Linked DNA regions of Homo sapiens: regions 1, 2, 3, 5, 6 and 7 are each linked to region 4. Evidence: promoter capture Hi-C in 16 types of primary human blood cells and fetal thymus (Javierre and others, 2016). All regions are on one chromosome and are shown on one strand. Each heading gives the region's core, a stretch centred on a gene start or on the middle of the fragment in contact. The rest is flanking DNA. Distances are from core to core; before and after follow the strand shown.

Region 1 (3,028 bases), core at 380-2,879, 440 kb after region 4:
CAAAAATAAACTGCTCATGGGGTGTGGCAGAGGGTGCCTTATTTGAAAGGAAATTCTTGCTGTTATGCTGAATCCTTAGGGACATGATAATTAAGGCTGTTTCTACCCAGAAGCTACAACTAGAACACTTCTGGTTTTATTCTTCATTATATTTGTTAACATTACTGCTCTTAGCAATGATGGTCTTGGCTAAATGCGTTAGTTCACGCCGTAATCCCAGCACTTTGGGAGGCCAAGGGTGGGAGGATCACTTGAGCCCAGGAGTTCGAGACCAGTCTGGGCAACATAGGGAAACCCCGTCTCTACAAAAAAATAAAAATAAAAAAATTAGCCGGGTGAGATGGCACATGCCTGTGGTTCCAGCTACTCCAGAGGCTGAGGCTGGAGGATCACTTAAGCACCGGAGGAGGCTGAGCTGCAGTGAGCTATGATGGTGCCACTGCACCCCAGCTGGGTGTCAGAGTGAGACCCTATCTCAGAAAAGAAAAAAAAAGCAATGATGAATGATGATCTCTCACGGTTCAGTGTCCCTGAGTTTCTCCCAGGCTTTTACTCCTGAGAGACAGAAGACTAGAAATTTAGTCCTGACTTAGAGTTCTAAAACAATACTTTATTGAACATCATTTTATTGACCTTGGTCAGGTCCTTTCGCCTCTCAGAACATTTGTCTCCCCCCGTCTGTTCCAGTTCTTAGAACAGTAAACACAGACCACGAGAAACTACTCCAGTATTTAATAGTAAAGCAAGCAATCTGTCACGCAGGGCTTTGCCTTGCCCTGTCTCCCTCTTATCTGACCTCGTTTTCTTTGACCGGTTGCCAAGTTGTTATATCAGACATCACAAGCACTTGCCCACAATTGTTGAATTTGCTGCCCCTTTCTGAGGGACATTTCAATGAAAACTATTAAAAATGGGGTGAAGGAATTATCAGAATTCTCTGAGGCCCCTTGATATCTTTTGGTCACTTCTCTTGGGGCCAGTGTTCAGTTGTGTGTGCGTGTGTGTGTGTGTGTGTGTGTGTGTGTGTGTGTGTTTGTGTGTGTGTGTTTGTTTGTTTGTTTTTTCCAGAGGGCAGTTGAAACTGTTAAAGCAAAGCGGGCTCCCAAGTGTCTAAGTTTAACTTTTCTTCCCTTTGTTGAATGGATTTCACTGTTATATGTTTTGGTGCAGTTTATAAATACAGCTTCAGCAGTCACTATGGTCAATTTTCTTAAAACACTTCATGATGGGTTAAACATTATTGCCTTTGGAAGCTTTAAGGCGTGAGTAACATTATGCTTATTTGTTTTGTATATTTACACTATATATACCATACCGCAAAAGTCTTTTTGACATTTATTTATACAGAGGAGAGGACTTTTTTCAAGAGTTGGTGAGCAAGGGAAGGCTTAATTAAGGACAGGGGATTTGGTTTAGGTGTTGAAATGTGAAAATAATCTGATTTATGTTGAAATGAGAAGAAAAAGTATGTCAGGTAGAGAAAGGAAGTTGAACAAAGGCAAAGGAGCGTGTGTATGTCTATGCATTCAGAATGTATGTATGCTTAAGCTTATTTCCAGTGTGTATTAGGATTAGAACAAATCTTTTCAGGGTATTCATGGGCTGCCTCCTACTTCAGTGTAGAGGCAATGGTATAACATGTGAAAGGGGGTTGACAGAGACTTGATTAGAAAGATGGATTGGGATTGTAAAGGAAGAAGTAAAGCTTTTATCCACAGATGACATGATCTGGTATGTAGAATCCTGAGGAATCTACAAATATGTTATTATATGCTCCAAGTTAAGCAAGGTTGTAGGATATAAGATTCACATACAGCAACAAATTGAATTTCTATGCATGGCTACTGAATGATCTAAAGAAATTTGAAAAGCAATATCAAAAGAAATAGAATCTTAGGGGAATAAATTGAAAATCTGTACATTTAAAATTATAAAAAAAAATGGCTAAAAGAAATTAAAGAAGATTAAGTAAGTGAAAAGACAGCCCATGGTCATGGAACGAAAGATGTAATAGTAATACTGTTAAGAAGCCAGTACTGTATAGATTCATTGCAGCCCCTATCAAAATCACAGCTTTCTGACGAGTTGATTCTAAAAGTAATGGGAAATTCAAGGGGCCAAGAGTGACCAAAACAACCTGAAAAAGGAAGAACAAGGTTGGAGGAGACTCACACTTCCAGATTTCACTTACTGCAAAGCTACAATAGTGAAGACAGTGTTATTCTGGCATAAAGATAGGCATCTAGCCAGGTGTGGTGCTACATGCCTGTAATCCTGACACTGGAAGGCTGAGGCGGGAGGGATCACTTGAGCCTAGGAGTTCAAGACCAGCCTGGGCAATGTAGTGAGACCCTGTCTCTTAAAAAAAATGAAAAATTGTCCAGGCATGGTGGTGCATGCGTATAGCCCCAGCTACTCGGAAGTCTGAGGTGGGAGGATCGCTTGAGTCCAGGAGGTCAACACTGCAGTGAACTGTGATTGCACCACCGTACTCCAGCCAGGGCGACAGAGTGAGATCCTGTCAAAAAGAAAAAAAAAAAAAAAAGATAGGCATCTAGCTCAATGGACTTGAGAGTCCAGAAATAAACCTTTGCATATATATTAATATATGTATATGTTTGATTTTTGACATGGGCACCAAGGCTTTTTGATGGGTAAAGAATAGTCTTTTCAACAGATAGCTCTGGGACAACTGGATATCCACATACAAAATAATGAAGTTGGATTTCTACTTCACATCATGTACGAAAATGAATTGAAAGTGGATGAGAGAGCTAAATGTAATAGCAAATACTGCAAAACTCTTAGAAGACAACGTAAAAGTAATCTTTGTGACGTTGGTTTAGACAATGATTTGCTACATATGATACAAAAAGCACAAGAGACCAAAGGAAAAACGGATAATTTGGATTTCAGCAAAAGTAAAAACGTTTGTGCTTCAGAAGACACTGTCAATTAAGTGAAAAATGACCACTCACAGAATGGTAGAAAACATTTGCAAAGTGTACATCTAATAAAGAACTTATGT
Region 2 (2,925 bases), core at 318-2,817, 300 kb after region 4:
AGCGCTCCCATTTTTAAAATCTTCAGATCTCGTGAGACTCATTCACTATGACGAGAACAGCCCAGGAAAGACCCGCCCCCATAATTCAATCACCTCCCACAAGGTTCCTCCCACACACCTGGGAACTGCGGGACTTACAATTCAAGATGAGATTTGGGTGGGGATACAGCCAAACCATATCAATGCCCAAGTGACTGGGGTGCTTCCAAACCTACACAGCTGCTCACACTGCTGCTCTGGCAGGGGGAGCATGAGCTGCGGACGTTTTTCTGAAGTTGGAGTGAATTTGTATAAAGGCATACACTCCCTCATGCTGGCTCCTCTGGTGGGTGTCCAAGGCTTCCTTTGATAGATGCAGATGGGGCAGCCAAGGCAAAGTAGGTGACTTATGTGGCCTTGGTGCATCTCAGCTATGCTCACCGGGCAGCCCATGCTGACATGGTGGGCGAGATCGTGGGGCCACCAGGGAACCTGACTCCACTCCCATCTCTAAGCTTGGCCAAGTCAGTCACTTCTCGTTATTGGGGCGTCTTCTACCTGTCACTTGAAAAAGACTGTTCTTTGGAACAATAAGGCGGTAACACATACACAGGACCACCCTGTAGCCGGCCACACAGGTTCCGCCTCCAGGTGCTTGGATCTACTTAACGGACCTCCCAGGGGGAAAGATTTGCGGTCTCTCCGTCCCTCTACCAGGGGAGGGCGCCGTTCCAGCCCTTGCCTCTGCGGCACAGATCAAAGGACGGAGGAAAAAAGGTGCGGGTCCGGGGCACTAATGTTCGAAAATGCAGTTTTAAGTGACCTCTCCCCGCGCACGCACTGTCGGTGGGGGCAGTCCCGAGGCCAGGCTGCGGGGCGCCTGGGGGGACTCGCCTCAGGGGGAAATGGCCCTTTCAGGGCTCGACGGGTCCCCGGGACTAAACGCTCCGGCCGCGGATCGGTGCCGGGGGAGCCCGGTCAGAGAGGCCGGGACCCCGAGGGACGCCTAGGTGCGTGTCCCGAAGCCCGCGTACCTCCAGCCCCGGCGAGACGGCGCCCAACTCGCGGCTCCAGTCACACGGCCCTTCCTGAGAGGAAACACCAGGGAAAGCACCTCTCACTTTTCTCAGGGTGGGAAAACTGTGAAGGAAGAAGACAAAGCAACAGGCAGGTTTTCGCTCGCGGGCTGGAGGCTGGGCCCAGGGCGGGCGCGCGGCTGCGGGAGGCAGCGGACGGTCCGGGCCGCTCGAGGGCTGCACTGCGAGGGTCTGGATCGCCTCCAGCCTCCCCCGGAGGCCCCGCCCCTGCCCTGGAGACCCCGCCCCCGCCTCGGAGGCCCAGCCACCTCCCCCCTCCCCGAGGCGTCGGCCCCGCCTCTCCGCCCTCCGCCCTCCGCCCCCGGGGCCCGCCACCGCCGGCCCGCCTGCGCCGCCTTCGCTTTGACGTTACTGGGGGCCGGGCGGGCGGCTGCCGCGGGCTCGCAGCCTCGCCAGCCTCCGCCAGGGTGCGCGCGGGCCGCCGCCTCTCGGCAGTCCCGGGAGCTCAACAAAGAGCACGCGGCGCTGGCCGCCGGCACTCGCGCCCTGAGGCTGCGGCCCCGGAGCGCCCGGCGGCGGTTTCGGCGCGCGGCCGGGCTGGCGATGGAAGATGGAAGGAAGGAGCGCAGCGGTGAGCTCCGGGGCCGGGGCGCGGGCGCGGGGTGCGCACGCGGCGCCGCTGTTCGACGTGGGGTTTGTGTTGCTTTGTCGCCGCTCTGTCCCCCAGGATCCCGGGGCCACCTGGGTTTGTGCTGTCTGGATAGGTGCAGGGTGCGATTTTTCTCTTCGCGCTTGCTTGCTTTGTGTTTTTTAGGAGCCCAGCAGGGTCAACTTTGTGGTGTTAAGGTTTAGGGGTTTTAGTTCATACCTCGGCTTTGAAAACCTCAGACTTTGGAGAAAAGCTATCAAAAGAAGGCAACATGAAAGAGGACCTCGTATGCCGATCTTTCTTTGCCCGGTCAGCTTGTATTTAGGGACTATCACGTTTCTGTCAGAAAGAAAGAAAAAAAGACTAAACTAAACAAACTTGAATTGAGCGAGCAAACGGACAAGGGAAGATTATTCGGTGCAATTCCCAGGAGCTTTTACAGATGTTTAAGTCATTCTGTTTTACATGCATTTAACTTTATCCGCCGTTTTCAGCTTTCCGTTCTGGCGAATGATGTTCTGAATTTTTTTTTTAAACACATTAACACCGATTAGAGGACGTGGGTTTAGAATGTTGTTGGTGACCTAAATAATAAATGTTTCGTTTTGCCATTCCCCTCGATGTCAAAGGATGTTAAACGCCCACTAGGCAGAGGATGGAATGGGCACCACGATTTCATTTTCTAGACACTGGTTCTCCCGATAGCGGGATCCAGGATTTCCGCTCCAGAATAACTCTTGAGTGGGTCCAGGTGTTGGTGTAGGGAAGACGGAGATCTGGAAAATTACTGTAAGTGGGATTCTGGCAACAAATGCCTCAATGCGTTCGTTGTAATTGAGTATGTGCAAAGGATTTTGCAAAGCCCGGTAGCTAGGTAAGTAGGATAGGATTTCTGCTTTCAAGAAGCGTGCTTGAGAGCTTGCCTGGGAGAGACTTATGCGTAGGCTACCATGGAGGATCTCAGAGGAAGCTTCTGGCCTCCGGGCTTGGAAGTTCTCAGAGAGGAGCTGGCAGTTATGCTGGACCTTGAAAGGGAGGGGTTGATTGGATTTTTGTGAGATGTGAGGGAAAGGATGTCCCCTGCTAAAGGAAAGGGAATTCACTTTCTACCCTTTTCCAAGAAATGATCCTTTCTTTTCTGAGAGTATTTACAAACCAAGAGGTTTTCTTTTCAAAAAGTCATGAAATTCCTCTTCAGCAGTTAAAAGTGCAACATGCTCAACATCACCAGTTAAGCAAATGCAAAATAAATTAGCACCT
Region 3 (2,700 bases), core at 74-2,573, 420 kb after region 4:
ACAGTGGAAGAAGGATTGGTACTGTATAGAAGAAACATTTTTGGAGAAATGAAAAAGTTAAAAAGACAGAAACTATGATTATGTCTGTACATTTACACTGAATGTGCCTGCCTCTCTTGCTTCCTGTTCTTCTTCCTCTACCTTTTCTGCCTCTCCCATCCTTGAGATGAGGACAACTCCTTTCTCCTCCTCTTCAGCTTATTCAATGAGAAATTGAGGATGAAGACCTTTATGATGATTCATTTCCACTTAATGAATAGTAAATATATTTTCTCTTCTTCATCATTTTCTTAGTAACATTTTCTTTTCTCTAGTTTATTATAAAAATAAAGTATATAATACATACAACATGCAAAATATGTGTCCATTCCCTATTTATATTATCAGTAAGACTTCTAGTCAATAGTAGGCTAATATGTTAGTAGCTAAGTTTTTGGAGAGTCAAAAGTTATGTGGATTTTCAACTGCATGGTGGTGGTGCTCAGTGCCCCTAAATCCCATCTTATTCAAAGGTCAACTGTAGACTGAATGTGAAAGTATGGAAAAAGACATTCCATGCAAACAGAACCCAAAAGCAAGCAAATGTAGTCATTCCTATATCAGATAAAACAGACTTTAAGTAAACTCATGTAAAAAGAGACAAAGAAGGTCATTATACAGTGATAACAGGATCAATTCAGCAAGCAGATATAACACTTATAAACGTATATGTACCTAATACTGGAGCACCCAGGTAATCAAAGCAAATATTATTAGATTTAAATTGCACTTAAACAGGACAGTAATAGTTGGGCACTTAAACACCCCTCTAAGCATCAGATAGATCATCTATACAGAAAACAAACAAAGCAACATTGGATTTAAACTGCACTTTAATCAAACTCTCAGCAAGTTAGGTAAGAAGGAACATACCTCGACACAGTCAAAGCCGTATATGAGAAAACCATAGCCAACATTATACTGAACTGGGGAAAGCTGCAAACTTTTCCTCTAGCTCTGGAACAAGACAAGAATGACCACTTTCTCCATTTTTTTTCAGGAGTACTAGAAGTTTTAGCCAGATAAATGATCTTATATAAATAAAACTATGAAAGCTTCAAAAAATAAAAACCTCTGAACTGACCGTCTAATTCAGTAAAGTTGCAGGATACAAAATCAACTTAGAAAAATCAGTGGTGTTTCTATATACCAACATTCAAATAGCAGAAAAAGAAAGTAAGAAAGCAATTGCAGGTACAGTAGCTACAAAAAGTAAAATACCTAGGGAAAAATTTAACCAAGGAAATGAAATGTCTCTGCAAGGAAAACTATAAAACACTGATGTAAGAAATTGCAGCAGGCATATGCAAAAATAAAAACACATTGCATTTTCATGAATTGGGAGAATTAATATGGTAAAAATGGCCATACTACAAAAAGCAGTATACTCATTCAGTGCATTCCCTATCAAAGTACCAGTGTCATTCATCACAGAAATAGAAAAAACAGTCCTAAAATTTGCCTAGAACCACACAATACCCTGGATAGCCAAAGCAAGAAGAACAAAGCTTGAGACATCACACTACCGGACTCCAAAATATACTGCAAAACCATAGTAACCAAATAGCATAGTACTGTCATAAAAACAGATACACAGACCAATGGAACAGAATATAGAACCCAGAAAAATAAATCTCATCTTTATAGCCGACTCATTTTCAACAAAGGCACCAAGAACATTCACTGGGAAAAGGACAGTCTCTTCAATAAGCAGACACATCACGTCTCAAAAGAAGACATATAGATGGCCAACAGGTATATGAAAAAATACTGAACATCAGGGAAATGCAAATCAAAACCATAATGAGATATTATATCAACCTAGCTAGAATGGCTGTTATCAAAAAGACAAAACATAGGCCGGGCACGGTGGCTCACGCCTGTAATCCCAGCACTTTGGGAGGCTCAGGTGGGCGGATCACCTGAGGTCAGGAGTTCGAGACCAGCCTCAACATGGAGAAACCCTGTCTCTACTAAAAATACAAAATTAGCCGAGCATGGTGGTGCATGCCTGTAATCCCAGCTACTCGGGAGGCTGAGGTAGGAGAATTGCTTGAACCTGGGAGGCGGAGGTTGTGGTGAGCCGAGATCATGCCATTGCACTCCAGCCTGGGCAACAAGAGCAAAACTCTGTCTCAAAACAAAACAAAACAAAAAAAGACAAAACATAAAAAAATGCTAGTGGGATTAAGAGAAAAGGGAAACTCTTACACATTGTAGGTGGGAATGTAAATTAGTAAACCCATTAAGGAGGCCAGGCATGGTGGTGCACGCCTGTAATTCCAACACTTTGGGAGGCCGAGGTGGGCAGATGGCTTGAGCTCAGGAGTTCAAGACCAGCCTGGGCAATCTGGTGAAACCTCATCTCTACAAAAAATACAAAAATTAGCTGAGGTGGTGGTGTGTGCCTGTAGTCCCTGCTACTTGGGAGGCTGAGGTGGGAGAATCACTTGATCCCAGGGGGTCAAGGCTGCAGCAAGCCAAGATTGCACCAGTGCACTGCAGCCTGAACGACAGAGCGAGACCCTGTCTCAAAAATAAAATAAAAGTATAGCCACTAAGGAAAAACAGTATGGAAGTTGCTCAAAAACTAAAAATAGAGCTCTCATATTATGCAGCAATCCTACCACTTGGTATATATCCAGAAAAAAGGAAATCAGT
Region 4 (2,743 bases), core at 3-2,502:
CTGTGGTCCAACTTTGTTTTCTTATTGAAACTTTATCTTATTCATCTACCAGCAAAAGGGCTGTTTTTGAGGATGAAACAAATTACCAGAGATGACAGCAGTTTGTAAATATATACTATTCTTCAGAAATTTGAGATTACTGTACACACAGATTTAGTATACATAGAGAATTCCACTCATATGCCAAATCTATGCCCCTGTATGCTTTCCACTTATTTATTCACTATTTTAAAATAATCGTACCCAAGTCGTTGTTTCTATTAAACCAGCAATCAAACGAAAGCCTTTGGAGCGATGAGGAGCATCTGTTTGAAAGGGGGAGGTGCCACGCTTGCTGCTTCTCTAAGCTCCCTGGGAAGGGAGAGACAACTCAGAAAACCTACAAACTGTAGCTCCTTCCGGTGCCCGCGTGACCCCCGAGTCCAGGAGCGGGCAGGGGCGCCGCTTGGCTGAGCGCACTGGGCACCCGGTCTGGGTCTGGGCCAGCCCCGCCGCTGCAGCCCGAGGGAGGCGGCGCTGCACTGGCCTCCGCGCGCTCCCAGACCCCACGTGGGGGCGCCCCTGGGTGCCGGTGCGCGGGGAACGTGCTGCGGGGGTGCTGCGCCAGCTGCCACCGTTTCCCGGGACTTCCCTCCTGGAAGATTTCCATGCGCAAGTCGAGGACGTGCTCCTGCTAGGAGTCTAGAAACTCTAGGCCAGCCCGGACCCTCCCGGGGCCTGCACTCCCCGCGGGTGGAAGCACGCGCCGCGTGTCCCTGCCGGATTCCAGAACTTCCCCGAAGGTCCTCAGCCCCGGCAGACCCTCTCCCTCGAAGTTCCCCCGCCACCCCCTGCAAGCCCCCAGGCCCCGGGGACCGCCGCTCACCTAGCCAGCGGCTCCAGACACCGGACACCGGACACCGGACACCGGACACCCGCCGCGGCCGCTCTCGCCGCCCAACCCCGCACCTGAGCCCGCCCCGGGCGCCGCGAAGGGGTGGAGGCGGGGGTGAGGCTTCCGCCCGCCCGCTCTGGCCCCTGCGCCTCCCATGCACCCATGCAACCTCCGAGGAAATTCCCTTCCCCCTACTCCCACCCCACGCACACTCTCCCCAAAGCCTCGCCCCACCCCCAGCACCTACCAGTGCTGGGCGCCCCTGGGCAGGGTGGCTCGATCACCCGCCACATCCACTTGGCCGCCAGAAGCCGTCGGGGAAGGGAGGGAGGGAAAGGCAGAGGCGTCCCAAGCGGCGCAGGCGGGCTGAGCAAATACTCCGGCCCGGACGCAAAACAGCTCTTGTAGCCGTCCCGCCCGCGCCGCCCCGCCGCGCCCACATGCCGGGGTGACTGGCGGGGCGCAATCGCGGCCCCACCCGGGCGCCTGGAGGCTCTCCAGGGCCACTCGTCGGCGAGGCTGCGTGGCCTGCGCATCTCGGGCCGCCTGGCCCGCGCGCTGTCCCCGAGCTGCGGTAGTCCGGGGTAGGCTTGTCCTCTCCTCTCTTAGTTCATGAGACAGGGATCTGCAGTCTGTGATCTCTTGGGGACTGCAGGACTTAGATTAAATCTGCAGATCTGGGCCTTTCCACGTTTCAGAGCTCGGGGTTCCTTGCTAGGTGTAGGGTAGGAGGGTGCGCAGGCCCCACTTGTTCACTCTGCTTGGGTGCTGCAGGCCAAGGCGACTCTGGAGCTTTTTTTTTTTTTCTTTTGTTGACATTAAGTAAATGATCAAACTCTTTGGCACTTGTCGGTACACGTGTGGCTTTGTAGGACAAGATGAAGGAAGGAAAAGGCTGGAAGGAAGGAGACCGCAGTCAACACAGACAGGTGGAGAAAATGAAAGAAAACTGGGGGAAAAGTTAAGATGCTGAAAGGAGTCTTGAGGATTGCAACAAGAACAGGTTGGCTTGGTGCCTGAAGACGTCAGGGAGGAGCTGGCAGTCCACAGTTAGAGGAAATCTTGGAGGAAAATTGAGCAGAAGCACAGTGGAAAGGCATTTCCACTGGAGGGCATTTTCCATCCTAGAGGAGCATGTGGAAGAAAACCGCCTGCTTTGGTGAACCCCAGATTTTGTGTATTGGGAGAGATGTAATAAACAGTAAACACCAGTAGTCCTCTCCACGGACTACCTGACCTCTTTAGGAGCCTGACCTGCTGGATTCAAACACAAAATGGCATTTCCCTGCCTCTCCAAACTGCAGAAGCTGTGCAGAGTTACATCAAGCCTCGGGGCAGGCGGCATTGTCAGGAAATAAGACCCAGCTATTTAGGAACAATTCCAGGAATCCCATCAGGGAGGAATTTCTGGTGTAAGGCTTAGTTCCTACTGCAGTTTAAATGATAGCATATGGGGTGCTTTAGGCTGGAGTGGGATTGGCCCCTGGAAAGCTGCTATGACGAGGTCAGAATGAATCCTAGCCCTGCATGGATGCATCAGTTGAACCATACAGGGTGGTTTATCAGTTAGGAAAAATCCCACAGGACACTGTGACAGCCTACCTTCCTCACACCCAGTCTCTCTCCAGGTCCTGGCAAGTCCTTCCTTATAACAGCTTTATCACTGTGCTACTAACCTCTGTACCTCACTTTCCTCCTCTAGATAAAGAGTGTCTGCCTCGGTAAGTTGTCAAGAGGGTTAAATGAGATGCTACATGCAAAGAGATTAGAAGAGCTCTTGGCATGTGGTGAGTGTTCAAACACATTCACTCAGATCAGTTCATATCACATTAAGGTACTGGAATTCCACATTCCTGCCATCTCACCCTA
Region 5 (2,700 bases), core at 106-2,605, 490 kb before region 4:
ATGACTTCGATATTTTTGAAGAATGTAGTTTGACTTCATTTTCTTTTAAATAGAACGTTCTTCATTCTGGGCGTGTTCAATCCTTCCTCATTTTTAGATTCATTTGTGTATTCCTGGCTGGAATACCACATATTTGATATGTCCTTCTTAGGGTATCATATCTGAAGGCATAAAATGTCTATTTGCCCGTCATTGACAACATTTATTTTGTTCCCTTGTTCAAGGTGCTGTCTAATTTCTCCATTCTATAATTACTATTTTTTCCCTGGCAACACTAAGCAAACTACGGGAACACATTCTAAGTTCATACAAATAATCTGTCCTAGAATTTATCTCTTTTTATATGCCTGGAGACAATGAAGGATAATGAGGTGAATCTTGTAGAATAGGTATCCCAACCCTCAGCCACTTACAGCCTAGCAGCAGAGATAAGAAGTTCCTAGGAGGCCATGATAGAAGCTTTCTGATTTCAACCCATGCCTTGGTTGAAAGTTCAAGACACCAAGCTTATCTTTTTCAAAGCTGCCAATCTACTTATTGTTTGTCATACTGATTAAATAAGATTTCCCATGTCTTTTCTGCCCACTGTACTCCATTTCATGCCATGGCAGGCCATAAATTGAAATTATGCCTTTTTAACTTCAATTACATGGAAACACTCTGCTCTTATATGGCTCCTGCTCCACCACCTTTCACTAATTATATCTTTGATTTCACTAAATGTATCTTTATACATCGTATACTCCAAAACATAGACTAATGATTTTTTATGCTTTTGTCTTTTAAATCACGTGGAAATAAAAATTGGTGTTGCAAACTAAAGTTATAATAATACTGGCTTTACAATTAAACCAGATATTTATCTTTACCAGAGATCTTTATTTCTTTATGTGGCTTCAAGTTACTGTCTTTTGTTCTTTCACTTTAATCTCAAGTATTACCTTTGGCATTTATTTCAGGGCATGTCTAATGGTAGTGAATGCCCTCAGTTTTTGTTTATCTGGGAATGTCTTAATTTCTCCCTCATTTTTGAAGGACAGTTTTGCCTGACGTGGAATTCTTGTTGACACTTATTTTTCTTTCAACACTTTGAATGTACCAACCCACTACCTTCGGTTTCCAAGGTTTTCTGATGACAAATCTGTTGGTCATTTTATTGAGAATTACTTGTATTGGATGAATTATTTATTTTTTGATGCTTTTGAGATTTTTTTTATCTTTGGCTTTTGACAGATTATAATGCATTTTTGTATAGGTCTCTGAGTTTATCTTACTTGGAGTTAGTTGAACTTTTTAGATTTGTGGATTCACATACAACATCAAAGTTTTTGGCCATTATTTCTTGAAATAATCTCTCTCCGCCTTTCTCTGTTTCTCTCTTCTATTTCTGTAATTTCCACAATGCATATGCTTGTCCACCTGATGTATTTCCTCAAGTTCCTTGGGCTCTGTTCACTTTTCTTCCGTTTTTTTCTTACTTTTCCTCAGAGGCAATAATTCAATTCTCCTACATTCAAGTTTGTTGATTCTTTCTTCTGCCTGCTCTAGTCTGCCTTTAAATTCATCTAGTGAATTTTCTATTTGAGTTATAATTTTCAGTTGCAGAATTTCTTTTTTGTTCTGCTTTGATTTTTGTCTCTTCATTGATATTCCATACATATTTCTGACTTTGTCCACATCTTCCTTTAGCTCTTTGAGCATCTTTAAGACAGCTGTTTTATTAAAGTGTTTTTCTGGTAAGTCCACCATCTGAACTTCCTCAGGGATGGTTTCAGTCTATTTGTTTTACCTTTGAATAGGCAACACTTTCTAGTTTCTTTTTGTGTCTTTTAATGTTTTCATTAAAAACTGCATATTTGGATTTTATAATTTGGTAACTCTGGAAAACAGATTTTTCTCCTTTTTGCTTTTCTTCTGTTTGTTTTTGTTGGCTGTTTTTAAATTTTTTTTTTCAGTGGGGTATTACCCTCTGTGTGAGATCAGCCTGAGATGTAAACTGAAGGTCTTCTCACATCTTTTCTGAGCCTATGTCTCAGGCATGTTTAGTGAGTTTCTATATTCCCACAAATATGCAGTTGCTTTTGAATGTCCAATCTTAAATGCCTGGCCTCCAAAGGTAGAAAAAGGGGGAAATAAATGAGAAAAAAAAGGCATTGTCTTTGTCAAAGAAAATTTATGGAAGGCCATTATTTGGACTAAGCTTCTGCTCTAGTTCCCAGCAGACCCGGCCAAACCTAAATGGACTCACTCATGCTAAGTGCCACATAATCAAACTGAACTTTGAAAAAGGCCATTTTCCCAAGAAACAGAAGATTCAGAGCAATTAGTTGTACTGAGCCAGCATAATAAGAAAGTTCCTTCTAAACCCTGTAAGGAAAATCATCTGGAAATTGATGCAGGATTTTTCCTTGACCCCTTTGCAGGACTTGCAACAGGGGTGCCCCATTTACTCAGGCTTCCACACTCAACTCCTTGTGGGAGGGAGCACATGAGCGAATGAGTGTAGGAACTGGCTGGCTGCTTTGGCGCTGGCAGGAGCAAACTCCAGGCAGGCCTGCAGCAGCATCCAGATGGGGGTGCCTGTGACCCCAAAACCCCAGAGGGTATGTTACAGTGCTCTCTTAGCTTCACCATCTGAGGACAGCAGAGTGCTATCAGCTCAGTGGTCCCTTTGCCTCATTGCATGGGGTGGCGGCCCTC
Region 6 (2,743 bases), core at 43-2,542, 370 kb after region 4:
CCTGTGGTCTCCTGTGTCAGTTATCACTAGATCATTTGCTTCAAAAATGTCATTTTTCTTATTCTATTTCCTGTGGGTTTGTGCTTTTATAAGAAGAATCTCTTTACTGTGCTTTTAGTAGCTTTGGATGAGGGCAAATGCAAATGTGTATATTTATTTTGCCATCTTACCCAGAAATAAACAACAGTGATTTTTTAAAACTTTTTCTTTTTCCTTTTTACACTGGACGTCTCCCTTCCCCATAAACCTGTTATAGAACTTGAATCTTTAAAACAGAAATGGAACTACTGTGGTTGCAAAAGTGGTGTGGGGTTGAGTGAACAAGAGTCTTTTTCACCATGCCTCCTTTGTTGATCTTTGCAGCCACCCTGTCTCTATACCCAGGCAGCTTCTTTGAATCTTAGGATTCTCATGTACACAGCTGGGAAAACCACTGGATTAGAGTATTATACATCGCTGTTTTTGGCTAGAGTGAAAGATTCACCTCCTTTTACAACTTTGCATGTCTTCAAACCCACATTCCTCCTGTGTGGGCTGGTGCAAGGATATACCTTCTCATCCAGACCCTTTTGCTTATTAAAAGGGAATAGCAGGGGCTTGTTACCTGTCATCCTGGAGAATTTTCCTTTTGCCCTCTAATCTGTAGCCTTTCCTAAAGTAATAGTTAACTAGGCTGCTGTAATAAAGTACCATAAACAGGGCACTGAAACAACAGAAATTAATTTTCTTACAGTTCTAGAGAGTAGAAATTCGAGATCAAAGTTGGAAGGGTTGCTTTCTTCTGAGGCCTCTCTCTTTGTCTTGCAGATGGCCACCTTCTCCCTGTGTCTTCACATGGTCTTTTCTCAGTGTGTGCCTGTCGTCATCTTTTCATATGAAGACATTAGTCATGTTAAGTTAGGACACACTCTACTGATTTCATTTTAACCTAATTATCTCTTTAAAGACCTTATCTCCAAATACAGTTACATTTGAGGTACTGGGGGTTAGGACTTCAACATATAAATCTTGGGGGGACACAATTCAGCCCATAACGCCTAACTGTTGCCTTTTGCAGCATTAGCCTTGAGCTTCTTGTCCCTGTCTGCACTTAAGTTGTGCGTGGCTCCCTGCTTCCATGGGCCTGGCTTCTGCTGGGCAATGGGAGCAGATAGGATTGAGCAGGATCAAGTGCAGAGTGTGACTGTTGGAACCAAGTGTTAGTTTTGAGTGAGTCATGAAATATTATTTTATAGTCTTTAATTTAGTGTTTAATTTTTTCTTTATAATACTCACTGGCTGACTTGGAGGCTTTCAGATTCTCTGAAAATCATACTGAAGTTGAAATAATTAAGGAAATGAAGGAGCATGCCACCTTTCTCAAACTCTACTCTTAACCTTTTTCTCCCTCCTCACTCCTCTAGCCCCATCATTCCCTTCCCAAATCAACTGAAAACCACTTTTACTTCTAAAATTTGCCTGTAGCTTTCTGCTTCGTCTTTTTGATTTTTTTACAGCTAAACAATTAATTAAAAGAATCATTCTAGGCTGGGTGTGGCAGCTCACACCTGTTGTAATCCCAGCACTTTGGGAGGCCGAGGCGGGCGGATCACCTGAGGTCAGGAGTTTGAGACTAGCCTGGCCAGCATGGTGAAACCCTGTCTCTACTAAAAATACAAAAATTAGCCAGGCATGGTGATGCGTGCTTGTAATCCCAGCTACTCTGGAGGCTGAGGCAGGAGAATCACTTGAACCCGGGAGGCGGAGGTTGCAGTGAGCCAAGATTGTACCATTGCACTCCAGCCTGGGTGACAGAGTGAGAATCTGTCATCTCAAAAAAAAAAAAAAAAAAAAAAGTCATTCTACATCAGTAGTGCTTATCTTGTGTCTAAAATTGGTAATTATAATCGGTAATGTTGCGAGTTGGATAACGTGAATGTAATTCTTTGTAAATGTGAAAAGTCATATCAAATGTAAGGTTGAGATTTTGTTTGTCCCATCCATTTAATGGTGGGCTTGCATCTTTAAATACAGGGTGTGTTTTGGGGATCATGCCATTGTAATTTTATCACAAGGAAAAGATGTTACTGCTCCCGTAGTGAAGTGTCTGTGAAGCTGGTTCAGAAGTGTGAAGAATCATTGTGCTTCAGAATTCAAGGAGAGCTGAGAGATAAATTTGAGTAACACTTTTTATCAATAGGGAAGCTGAAGCCCAAACTTGAAGCATTTGTGTGAGACTGCGTGGTACTATCGAGCCGAGATTTAAGTCTGATCACCTGACCATCAGTCCAGCTGCTAATGTTTCATGTTCCATACTTCTTAAGGAGATTTATGTTCGTAAAAACAACTGTGATGAAGCAAAAGAATATATTTTATTCAGTTAGTAATGCCAAAGGAAATAGTAGTCTGAATTCTGTGGGTCTGTCATTAATCTGATTGTTTTAACAATACAGTTTTCAAAGACCTGCATTAATTATTGGAGAGATCAGTAAAAATTTATAAGCCTTGCTATGGGAAGAGGATGTATCAATAGGGGCTCACAGCTTCAAGAATAACTAATTGTTTGGTAAGAATAACCCCCCAGTGCAGGTGGAGCTGAGAAACCAAAGGAGAAGGCAGACAGGTCCAGACTGTTGTTATAGGGTGTTTTATTGGGGAACTGACAGACAGAAGCGTGGTTTTTGGCAACTGCAAGACGGATAGATCTCCATGCCATTATACCCCAGACCCAGGGATTATATCTAGGGAAGGGGCACACATGCTT
Region 7 (3,006 bases), core at 108-2,607, 350 kb after region 4:
ATGCCTCCATTTCTGGTTACCAACTTTATCATGTGACTCTTTTGGCAGCTAGTAGATATTTTTAGTAAATATAAAGGAATTCCTCCTACCAACATCTGAGGTCATTTGCCTTTCCTTGATTTTCTAATTTTCTGGTTGAAATAGTAAAGAGAACCCTACCCTGATGGTCAAAGGTTCTAAGATGTTTTGTGGACCAGCTCATAAAGGCCTTCAGCAGGGCAAGTCTGGTATCTGCTGGGCTTTCTGGAAATAGTTAAGTGAGTCAATAGGTAGCTTTGATGTTGTCAGGTTTAATATGGAAATAGCATTTTACTACTAGTAATCTTAAGATTTTTTAATAGAAAATCCTGGCCAGGCGCGGTGGCTCACGCCTGTAATCCCAGCACTTTGGGAGTGGATCACCTTAGATCGGGAGTTTGAGACCAGCCTGACCAGCATGGAGAAGCCCCGTCTCTACTAAAAATACAAAATTAGCCGGGCATGGTGGTGCACACCTGTAATCCCAGCTATTCGGGAGGCAGAAGCGGGAGAATCACTTGAACCTGGGAGGCAGGGGTTGCCGTGAGCCAAGATCATGCCATTGCACTCCAGCCTGGGCAACGAGAGTGAAACTCCGTCTCAAAAAAAAAAAATAAATAAAGAAAAAAGAAAATCCTAAGTGGGATTCCATGCTGATAGGTCTTACAGCCCACGTGAAAAGAAAGCCAAGTAAAAGCTTTTATGGCAGGAAATGTTCCTGTCTGCCTGGAATGGTTTGGACCAGGCAAGCAGATTGGAATTGTTTTTCCTCTTAAGTTGCTTTGTTCTGTTTTTGGACATGTTTTCCCTGAACTACACTTAATAGCAAAGTGCACCTACCATCCCTTCTCCCCCTACCCAAGCCTTGCTTGTGAGTATCTCCTAAAGCAGCATGCTTTTAGGTATCATTTATTTTAAGACTAATTTGAAAATTTTATGCCAATTTTGCATTTCATTTAAAAATATATTTAAATATCAAAATCAGATTTTAAATGACCATCTATTCAAATTGAGCCCCAAGAAGATGTGCCCGTTGGTCCGGAAACGTTGCGTCCTCCTGGGGCACACTGGTTTGTGACCCTGGGGATCTGAGGAGTCCCCTGTTTGAGAAGAACAGTTGTAGGGCATAACTGGAAGCCAGGAGGTCTAGGGAAGTATTTTTAAAAATGACTCTATTTGTGTTTTTTGGTTTTTTTTTTTTTTTTTAAGACAGTCTCTCTCTGTTGCCCAGGCCGGAGTTCAGTGGTGCAATCTCAGCTCACTGCAACCTCCACCTCCCAGGTTCAAGTAATTCTCCTACCTCAGCCTTGCGAGTAGTTGGGATTACAGGCGTGCACCACCACACCCAGCTAATTTTTGTATTTTTAGTAGAGATGGGGATTTCGCAGTGTTGGCCAGGCTGTTCTTGAACTGCTGACCTCAAGTGATTCACCTGCCTCGGCCTCCCAAAGTGCTGGAATTACAGGCCTGAGCCACCGCACCTGGCCTGAAAAATGACTCTGTTTGACAGCCTAGTATAGGTGTGGAAACTCTGTGAGAAGTGGAATGGCAGTCCACCTGGAATGTATGTGGTATACAGCTGCTTAATTAAGAAATCCATCTTAGTGAGCAGCATTTTCTTTCAAATAGCCTGGTATAGTCAACTCTTTACTGAGATTCAAGTCGACTGTTTTCTCTGACTGAGTGCTAGCTGTAATCCTGGGAAAAGTTATACAGCACATTGGTGATTTGTTTTTTCCATCTTATATGGGAGATTAAAATATTTGTTGCCTACTCCCCTCATCAGGTGTTGTGAGGATTAATGAGATCATTTTAGTAATGTGCCTTAAACTCACAAGAGGAAATGGGCACGGAAAAGCCCAAACCCCGGGTGTTATATTACCAGGAGCTTAACTCAGGCCTGGCATTTACGCTGCTGTTATGTGTCCATTTATTTTGTTCACGTGTTGCTTTTCGCATTACAATTCTGTATTAAGCTTCAGATCCATCTCATGGGTGTGAAAATATCCACGTGTCAAAATCAAGAGTGGGCCTGTTGGCTTCACATGTTTTCACTTGCCATCCATCTCCAGAATCTTGCAAGCTTGACCTACAGCTTGTTGGATTGGACACTTTTTATGTACACCACTTACTGCATTTTGCAGCTTCGAGTCTATCTGTGGGGACTCAGCTTTTTCAATAACTCTAGGCTGTAATTTTTGAGAGCATTGTTTAAACCTTGTGCTCTACTTGAGTAGTAAATGGTCACAGTGGCAACCGGGCATGGGTCCTTTCTCACTAGCGTGTGTGATGCTTGCTGTCACTGTCACCCCCGCCGAACGGGGTAATGGGATGAGAGAACAAGGCCTTACCAGCACAGCCTGTGAATGGCTCCATAGAGGGGACGCTGGTTCCTCAAGGGCGCAACCTATTCCCTTGATTTCAGCTGGAGGAACTTCTCTTGGGCCTTGGCATGATGTGCTCATACATCTTTAGGTAGCCAAAACCTGACATATAACTGAGTGTGAAAGTCAGTTGCCAGCATCTTCAGAAGGACATTATTTCTGAATGACCAGTGAATGAGGTTATTGTCATAGAAAACAGCAAAGTTTAAAATAATGTTGCTATTTGGGATGGCAGAATTGGTGGGGGAGGAAATGAGATGGGAGAAATATAATTTTAAACTATAAAAATTCCAGTGAAGTATAATGCTTAATTGTTAGCATATTCTAAGCAATGAGTTAGCCGCATTTAAAAATAGCTTTTTAACATGAATGAACCTTTTTATGAGCCGAGATTCAGTGAAGAATAAGTTGGTCATGCAAATGGTGTTTTAATAGTTTATATTAAATATTTTAGGGCTGGGATTTAAACAAATAACATTTTAGAGCTGTAAAAGCAAAAAGTCTGACCTGAAGGCCACACAAATAATTATAGTTCCTGAAATATAGCCCTGTGAACAAATCTATGCCACCTTGTTTATAATCTACTTCCTTTGAGTTTCAAAAT

The links. Contacts are between HindIII fragments. The CHiCAGO score rates a contact against its expected background, and 5 or more counts as called.
Region 1: a contact is called between a fragment that was not itself captured here and the fragment with the promoter of SH2D4A in region 4, in 3 of 17 cell types (total B cells, megakaryocytes and M1 macrophages). The highest score is 5.9, in total B cells.
Region 2: a contact is called between a fragment that was not itself captured here and the fragment with the promoter of SH2D4A in region 4, in 1 of 17 cell types (M1 macrophages). The highest score is 5.0, in M1 macrophages.
Region 3: a fragment that was not itself captured here is called in contact with the fragment with the promoter of SH2D4A in region 4 in 5 of 17 cell types (M1 macrophages, megakaryocytes, monocytes and 2 more); the score reaches 7.8 in M1 macrophages.
Region 5: a contact is called between a fragment that was not itself captured here and the fragment with the promoter of SH2D4A in region 4, in 2 of 17 cell types (naive CD4 T cells and non-activated CD4 T cells). The highest score is 5.6, in naive CD4 T cells.
Region 6: a fragment that was not itself captured here is called in contact with the fragment with the promoter of SH2D4A in region 4 in 2 of 17 cell types (M0 macrophages and M1 macrophages); the score reaches 5.2 in M0 macrophages.
Region 7: a fragment that was not itself captured here is called in contact with the fragment with the promoter of SH2D4A in region 4 in 1 of 17 cell types (M0 macrophages); the score reaches 5.2 in M0 macrophages.

Annotation. Positions count from the first base shown.
Region 1 is chr8:18,877,057-18,880,084 of GRCh38, reverse strand. The region is part of intron 2 of PSD3 (pleckstrin and Sec7 domain containing 3); the gene reads left to right. Among named protein-coding and RNA genes, the nearest start is that of PSD3, 140 kb to the left of the region's middle. The HindIII fragment of the contact is 157 bases long and covers 1,551-1,707 here.
Region 2 is chr8:19,012,285-19,015,209 of GRCh38, reverse strand. PSD3 (pleckstrin and Sec7 domain containing 3) reads left to right here and starts at 1,507. Exons shown (of 16, transcript NM_015310.4): 1 at 1,507-1,647. The coding sequence starts at 1,627. It overlaps LOC124901898 (a long non-coding RNA gene), which reads right to left and starts at 1,207. Exons shown (of 2, transcript XR_007060840.1): 1 at 1,014-1,207. RefSeq lists silencers at 1,364-1,453, 1,524-1,623. The HindIII fragment of the contact is 2,141 bases long and covers 497-2,637 here.
Region 3 is chr8:18,896,304-18,899,003 of GRCh38, reverse strand. The region is part of intron 2 of PSD3 (pleckstrin and Sec7 domain containing 3); the gene reads left to right. Among named protein-coding and RNA genes, the nearest start is that of PSD3, 120 kb to the left of the region's middle. The HindIII fragment of the contact is 453 bases long and covers 1,097-1,549 here.
Region 4 is chr8:19,312,202-19,314,944 of GRCh38, reverse strand. It overlaps SH2D4A (SH2 domain containing 4A), which reads right to left and starts at 1,252. Exons shown (of 10, transcript NM_022071.4): 1 at 1,122-1,252. The HindIII fragment of the contact is 8,347 bases long and covers 1-2,743 here.
Region 5 is chr8:19,802,464-19,805,163 of GRCh38, reverse strand. No RefSeq gene overlaps it. Among named protein-coding and RNA genes, the nearest start is that of INTS10, 14 kb to the left of the region's middle. The HindIII fragment of the contact is 1,694 bases long and covers 509-2,202 here.
Region 6 is chr8:18,940,758-18,943,500 of GRCh38, reverse strand. All of the region lies in intron 1 of PSD3 (pleckstrin and Sec7 domain containing 3), which reads left to right. Among named protein-coding and RNA genes, the nearest start is that of PSD3, 72 kb to the left of the region's middle. RefSeq lists an enhancer at 2,730-2,743. The HindIII fragment of the contact is 3,601 bases long and covers 1-2,743 here.
Region 7 is chr8:18,964,787-18,967,792 of GRCh38, reverse strand. All of the region lies in intron 1 of PSD3 (pleckstrin and Sec7 domain containing 3), which reads left to right. Among named protein-coding and RNA genes, the nearest start is that of PSD3, 47 kb to the left of the region's middle. The HindIII fragment of the contact is 1,279 bases long and covers 718-1,996 here.